2 separate regions of the Homo sapiens genome follow, and region 2 is linked to region 1. Evidence: promoter capture Hi-C in 16 types of primary human blood cells and fetal thymus (Javierre and others, 2016). All regions are on one chromosome and are shown on one strand. The core of a region is centred on a gene start or on the middle of the fragment in contact, and the rest is flanking DNA. Distances in the headings are between cores, read along the strand shown. Region 1 holds the start of AMT (aminomethyltransferase). Region 2 holds the start of CCDC71 (coiled-coil domain containing 71).

The links. Contacts are between HindIII fragments. The CHiCAGO score rates a contact against its expected background, and 5 or more counts as called.
Region 2: the fragment with the promoter of CCDC71 here is called in contact with the fragment with the promoter of AMT in region 1 in 1 of 17 cell types (endothelial precursors); the score reaches 7.1 in endothelial precursors.

What each region holds. Positions count from the first base shown.
Region 1 is chr3:49,420,648-49,424,357 of GRCh38, forward strand. AMT (aminomethyltransferase) reads right to left here and starts at 1,826. Exons shown (of 9, transcript NM_000481.4): 1 at 1,714-1,826; 2 at 1,457-1,624; 3 at 845-925. The coding sequence starts at 1,803. NICN1 (nicolin 1, tubulin polyglutamylase complex subunit) reads right to left here. Exons shown (of 6, transcript NM_032316.3): 6 at 1,686-3,710. RefSeq lists enhancers at 701-1,453, 1,454-2,207. The HindIII fragment of the contact is 5,136 bases long and covers 54-3,710 here.
Region 2 is chr3:49,164,738-49,168,447 of GRCh38, forward strand. CCDC71 (coiled-coil domain containing 71) reads right to left here and starts at 1,594. Exons shown (of 2, transcript NM_022903.4): 1 at 1,530-1,594. RefSeq lists silencers at 1,356-1,415, 1,436-1,515 and enhancers at 1,666-1,735, 1,756-1,875. The HindIII fragment of the contact is 8,654 bases long and covers 1,121-3,710 here.

The DNA of each region.
Region 1 (3,710 bases), core at 576-3,075:
TCACCTACCCAAACCTGGGACGACTTAGCCCATGTGGCAACCCACAGGACAAAAGCTTCAAAGGTCATCTTGATGATCGCAGGCTCTCCTAAGTACTCCATAGCAATGCCCCCAAAAAACTTCCTTAGCCTCCCCACTGGATGGACAAAAAGCCTGAGGTTGAGGGGGTCACATGAATCACCTGGGGATCTTGTTAAAATGAAGGTTCTGATTCAGCAGGTCTGCAGCAGTGCCTGAGACTATATTCCTAACAAGCTCCAAAGATGCTGGTTTAGAGACCACACTTTGTTGTTGTTATTTTTCTTTTTAGACTGAGTCTCACTCTGTTGCCCAGGCCAGAGTGCAGTGGTGCAACCTCAGCTTGCTGCAACCTCAGCCTCCCGAGTAGCTGGGACTACAAGCACGCGCCACCACGCCCGGCTAATTTTTGTGTTTTTAGTAGAAACGAGGTTTTGCCATGTTGGCCAGGCTGGTCTCGAACTCCTGACCTCAGGTGATCCACCCGCCTTGGCCTCCCCAAGTGCCAGGATTACAGGTGTTTGAGTCACGTCGCCTGGCCAGGGACCACATGTTGAATAGAGAGGGGTTAAGCAGAAGGGATGGCCAGAGAGCAGCATATTAACCTTGGTTTCTGGCCTCCTAGCCTGATGTAGTAAGACTGGGATATTCCCCTCCCTACAAATGTCTGTGTCTCTGGAAATGACTCAGGGATTCTGTCCAAGACTGCAAGCCCTGAGAAGCTGTGTTTGACTCATCTCTGTGCCCCTAAGCCTGAGGTAGGGACTCAGCCCATTTGCTGGCTCATGACTAAGAAAACTCATAGAGCAGAAATAAAAGGGCCCACCTGGTTTGGTCTTAGCTCTGCAATGTCTCCAACCACTAGACTCTCCATCAGCTTCACCCGGTCACTACCAAGTATCTTGGTCTGGGGAAGAGATTGAAAGCCTCAGGCCATTGCAACAGCTACAATCCAAAAGGCTACTAAGCAAGGATGCATCCTCCCTGCCATCCACAGTGCAGTCCAGCCCACCCAAAGTGACTAACCAGTCTTTTGGTTCTACACGTGGCAAAGGACCACCTTCTGATTTCCTGACCTCCCCCAGTCACTCTGTGTGGGGGGACTGCCAGGGAACTGGACAGGACCTAGCACCTTCCTGAAATAACCCCTTTTCAAACCAACATCCAGCCCAATACATGAGAGTGGGTGTCAGCCCTGGAAAACCCGGGACATTAAGGCACACCATTTAATGGGGGCAAGCTAGAAGGATGAGATGATGAGACCCTCTGAGCTCATTTCCTTGGGGCCATTGACCTATCCATGACACCCCCATGACCTCTAGCTCTTCTGAGAAGGCTGTCCTTGGAATCCAGTTCACAGCAAACAAAGCCAAGGAGTGGACCACTGTAAACAGGGAGGAAGGCCTGATCAGATGGCCAGTGTGCTCCCCTGGCTCACCTGCAGCATATGAGACACGTCAAAGAGCGAGCAGTGCTGGCGTGTGTGCAGGTGCGAGTCAGTGTGACTGTCCCGGTACTGCACTGGCAGACTCCAACCCGCAAACGCCACCATTTTCCCGCCGTGGGCCAGGTGGAAGTCATAGAGCGGTGTCCTGCGGAGCACCTCCTGTGGGCGGCTGGGCTTAGTGCCACCAGGGCCCTAGCCCCCAGCCGCTTCCCTCCCCCACCCTCCAAGATCAGCACCCTCTATCCCACCTGTGCGCAACTAAGTGGACGACACAAGGCCGGGGGGAATGCCTGCAGGCGAAAGCCCAGACGGGCCACCACACTTACAGCCCTCTGCATCGTCGCCTGCAACGAGTGCAGACGGCGCACAGAGGCCACCACACTGCCAGGCACGCCGGGAGATGTAGTCCAGGCCTCTGCTCGGACAGGTCTCTCTCCGGAGCAAAGGATCTGAAGGGGGCGTGGGCAGCCCCAAGGGCAGGCTGGGATTTAGAGCAGAGAATGCAGGAACCCGCAACCACAGGGAAGAAGCCTCCAGCTCTTTCGGCTGACTCTTCAGGGCAGCTCGGGCAATCCAGAGCTGATTGGGCTGCCCAGAACAAAGCTAGGGGCTAGACCGCCCCCTGCAGAACCGCCCTGTCTCCAGAGGGTCAAAGTTCTGGAAAGGGCTGAAAGGTCTGAATCATACCTTTAGGACCTCAAGAGAGTAAGGTCAAGTGGGGGTGGGGAAGGTGGGCCAGCCTGGCAGGTAGGCAGCACCACAGTAGTCTGTCCTCATGTGGACCCCTAGTTCCACAGCTCTCCCACCAGGCAGACACAGGCAGCCAGCAGTCATGCATTCCACAAGTATTTATTGATCTTACTGCATACCAGGCCCTCAGATGGGGACACAGCCACGAATGAAGCATGGTCCCTGCTACCACAAGGTCCTCTTCACTTACACACACACTGAGGACTACTGCTTCGTCACGCTTTCCGAAGCAGCTGAGTGGGGCTATGTAAGTGACCTTGCAGATGAAGTCGCCACCTGCAAGAACTCACAGGTGAGAACAGAGGGTGGCCACCAAAAGGTCACTGAACTCCCCCGAGAAAACTGTTGAGCCACACACATGTCCAACTTTCCAGGTCCAAGACATACTGCAGTACTGCTTTGTAATAGCCACCAGGTGCAAAGCCAGGAAGAACCAGAGGGAAACAGGTTTTTCTCACATGAGGGAAGAGCAGCCTGCATCACTTAATGGTTGGACTGAGTTAATGCAGGACTTAGGCCTCTTAAAAGGCAACAATGAGAACCCTTACTTGGACCCACTCCCCACCACGGTTGATCTCTCATTATGCTGAGCATATCTCTTGGAAAGGGGCAGGGCGGGCGCGGTGGCTCATGCCTGTAATCCCAGCACTTTGGAAGGCCAAGGCAGGCAGATCACCTGAGGTCAGGTGTTTGAGACCAGCCTGACCAACATGGAGAAACCCCATCTCTACTACAAATACAAAATTAGCCAGGCATGGTGATGCATGACTGTAATCCCAGCTACTCGGGAGACTGAGGCAGGAGAATTGCTTGAACCTGGGAGGCGGAGGTTGCAGTTAGCCAAGATTGCACTATTGCACTCCAGCCTGGGCAACAAGAGCAAAACTCAACCTCAAAAAAAACAACAAAAAAGGAGAGGGGCAACTGGGAGAAAGGATAGAGATGTGCTTTGGGCTATGTCAGATGGCAGAAGGGTCCCAGTTCTTTTTTTTTTGTTTGTTTGTTTAAGATGGAGTTTCGCTCTTCTTGCCCAGGCTGGAGTGCAATGGCATGATCTCAGGTCCGCAACCTCCACTTCCCGGGTTCAAGAGATTCTCCTGCCTCAGCCTCCCAAGTAGCTGGGATTACAGGTGCCTACCACCACGCCCAGCTAATTTTTTGTATTTTTAGTAGAGACGGGGTTTCTCCAGGTTGGTCAGGCTGGTCTTGAACTCCTGACCTCAGGTGATCCGCCTGCCTGGGCCTCCCAAAGTGCTGGGATTACAGGCGTGAGCCACTGCACCCTGCCTAGAAGGGTCCCAGTTCTTATGCTCAGGCCCTGGTTTTGCTAGAGACACGTGCCCAGGCCCTATGGGCACACCCACTTGAACATATATTCAGGAGCCAGCTCAGAAACCAAGAGACTCAGGCTGCCCAAATCTTCAGGTTTCCTTCCTAGGCAGGCAGCAGAAGAGTTCAGACAGGAAATTTCTCTCTGTGGCATAACACAAATGGA
Region 2 (3,710 bases), core at 344-2,843, 260 kb before region 1:
GCTAGGATATGAGTGATGAATGAAAAATGATTAGATGGAAATGGAACAAAAAGGGGAATAGCTAATGCAATGGCTCCAAAGTGAGAAAGGGTTAAGGCATACTTGGTGTGGGATCTGGGATCTAGGTGAAAAAACAGGCGAGGATAGAGCAACAAAGAACCCTGAATGTTAGCCAAAGGGCCCAGACTTACACCCACTGTCCATGCCCATCTGTTTCTCCAGCTGCTGCTGTTCATGTGTGGAGCTGGAGTGGGGTGGGGGAATCTCCCTGCCCACCAGAAGTTCTGTTTTCAGTCTCTAGACAGGGTACTCAGCAACCCATTTTCTAGCTCCAGAGGCATGGAGACCTAATCAAGAGTCGGACTTTTCTTCAACAGAAACTAAAAAGCTGATGAGTAGCAGGTGCCAATGACATCTCTCTAGGCAACCAGGCAGACCAGGGACCAGGAAGCCAGACCAAGATCCCAAAGTTTAAGGACAATGGGAGCCAAAGGCTGCAAGTAGGATGGTGAGTCAAGGGGACATTAGCGGTATGCACTGTCCTACCTAAGACTTGGAGGGCCACAGACCTCAGTACAGCCCAGATGGAGGTGACTGAGAACACCTAACTACTCCCAGACTTCTTTAAAGAAGCTGTGGACATCAATCATAACTAACATCTAATACCCAACCCAACACTGAGGGTTCCCAGAAGCAAGAGGCAGCTCCCCAGCTGCACCAGAGCATTAAAAGATCAGCCAGGATCAGGCAGGTCCCTCGGGCCATGAGGCCCGTCTGTGTAGTTTCTTCCCACCGCTCTAATGCAGCAGATGAAGTCTTCAGAATACCCTGGAGGAAATGCCCTAGGGCTCTTTGTTTGGAAACATTCTTGGATCCTCAGGTGTCTTGGGCACTTCCCCTCCCCAGAGACCGTTCTCCAAGCACAATCCTTGCACATGACTTTAGTTCTTTATTAATGTTTTTTGAAGGGATGTAGTTCCCAGAGCTGTGAACTGTAGAAGAGAGAGGGACCTATTTCCCACCCTCACACGCGCCCCAGCGCAAATATTTGGGGTGACCTGGGGGCTCTTCCACCCAGGTTAGGCTGGGCTCTTGGGAGGGGTTTTCTGGGCTTTCGAGAAGCTTCGGAAACAGAGGCTCCTGCCCGGCCTCCGACTTCCCTTCACACGTGCCCCCGGGGAAGGCAGGAGAAGTTGACGGAAGATAGGGCGTGAGAGAGGCGCCACACAGGCAGACCGGGGGAGGGGGCAGATCGGGGCCCTCAGGCTGGGAATGCACGTCCTTAGGGCCCAAGCCGTGAGGCGGGGGTCACTGAGGCAGCGAAATGTACAGGGTGAACGGTGCTAGCCCTACCGGGACCGCACAGCCCCAGGGTGGGGTCGCTGGGCGCGGGGTGGGGGTGGGGTGGGGGGTCTCGGCCAGGCCGGCGGAGGACGCGGGTCCGGGAAGAGTTGGCCGCTTGCCCGTCCGCCCTGCCGCCTCGCGGGCCGCCCCTCCGCGGCGCGGCTAGGCCCGCGGCTCCAACCTACCGGCGCCGCCGCGGGGACCCAAGACGCGCCTCTGCGCCGCCTCCGCTGCTCCAACATGGCCGCCCGCTGCGCGCCGGAAGTGCACTGCGCTTCCGCTTCCGGGACCCAGCCCGCCCTACCGACCCTTGACCCCTGAGACCCCATTTCCCCACAAAGTCTGGGGGCGGAGCAGATTGGGTACCAAGGAGGACTGCCTGGAGGTGGTGGCCGCGGTGACTGCTCCAAACCCGTTCGGCCCTGTGCAGAAGTCTGAAGAACAGAGGTGCCCTCTGACGCGGCCCCAGGCAAGGACTCACTAGAGCCCGGCCAAGACTGGATTAGGGGTCATCTGACACCTTTTCTGAGGGGAGCTAGTGGTGCATTGACATCTGGGAGGGGCTCCTGACAAGGTTCAGGCCATCTTCCACCCTCTGATCTATCTTTAGCCACTGACAATGCCCACTTCAGTCCCAGACACCTGACCAGAGGGTGAAAGAGGAGTGCCTCCTGACAGGGAGTCTCAGGTGATCTCCTTTGTTTTGCAGTAAGGGTATCTTCTCCGAGGACAGCAGGCCTTCCTCTCTTCCTGAGAATAGGGCCTGTGGCACATGGCATGAAAGGCTGGTGTGCACGTGATCACAAGTGGTGCACGCAAGCCCAAGCGCACATGGAGTCTGGGGGCTCCAGTATACCACTGTGGGCCTGAGTATACTTGCTCAGGCAGGTGGGGGCAGGTATAGTCACTGGCCCAGCCTCAGCCCCTCAATGGAAGGAAGTCCTGCTTCCAGTCTTAACACTGCCCAGAACCCCTTTCCTTTTGCCTAGGAGTCTGGGACCTCAGTCTTTTTATCCATGCTCTTGGGCTAGTACGGGGTGGTGGTTATAGGACACAGGTCAAAATCAACCCTAGGGGTCTGTGACTTCAGTGAGAGGTCAGAGTGGTCTCCACAGCTCTGACCAAAGGTCCCATTAGTCAGAGGTTTGCAAGTCCAGGTTGGGAACCATCCTGGGAGCCCTGGTTTCATGGATGAGGTAGTGGGGGCATTTGCACTAGGGTCAGAGCCTGAGCCAGGAGGCAGAAATATTGCCACAACTCTTGGACTCTGACCCTTGCAGTGGTGCCTTATTTGGTAGTTGGGGTCAGGTGGAAGCCTATTGGCAATCACAGGAGGGTGGCGGGATGCTTCATTTAGGGACTGGGTACTAGCCCTTTTTCCTGCCCTTTTTCCAACCAGGATCCTCTGGTTGCTCTGTATTTTCCCTGCTTATACAGAGGGGTCCAGGCACTCCTAAAGACAAGTGCCTAGTCCACCCAGCAGTGCCATAGGCCTCATCTGGTGCCTCTTAGCTTCCCAGGGCCTCAGCACTAATGGTGAGGTCCTCGCTGCTTTTAAGTATAGCCAAGGTATCTAGCAGGAACTGCAAAATCTCCTGTTCCTCTGGGGTCAGTGCTTCTAGCCTTTTTTTCCTGGTGGAGAGAAAGCAAGAGTAGGGTCCCAGGGGCCAGGATCTCATGGGGTGCAGTCAGGAAGCCCCACCTTGGTGCCCCCAGTCCCCAGCTGTGGGTGAGTCCAGTCTCTGGCCGTCCATGGTTGAAGATTGACTGTTCACTTATTCAGGACCGATTCAACCAGTTACCTTCTGCAGCTTCTCCAAAGCCGGCAGTGTTGGCCTCCTGTGTGCAGGTGGGCCATGGCTGTGCAAACAGAAACCCCTTCCATGGAGAGCCAGAGCCCATCCTCCAGGGATAGCAACAGTACAGTTATATCCAGACCCCTCTCTGGTGATGTTCAGCTCAGAAGTTAGGGCAAATGGAAAACCAGGAAGGGTAGGTCCATCCTCCGGCTGTGCTGTGTCCCTTCCAGACATGAGAACTGGGGAAATGATAGAGATTAGGGATAAGGATCATGGGGGTACCTAGCTCCCTTTGGGGGTGGTAGGGCCGAACTTTTTGCCTCCTGGTGCCCAGTATGCCCTAGATGGAACTCTTTGGGAGCGCTCATCAGAGTGCAGTCTGACTTGACCTGGACTCTAGTGGCTGCTGAGCCTACAGGCACAACTGGGACCAGACAGGATGAGATGGGAGAGAACACAGGGTGATCCCAGGACCCAATCTTTGCTTTCCATTTGGCATCTTATATGGTTCTTTTTTTCCTTCTTCTTCCTTTTTTTTTTTTTTTTTTTTTTTTTTGAGACAGTCTC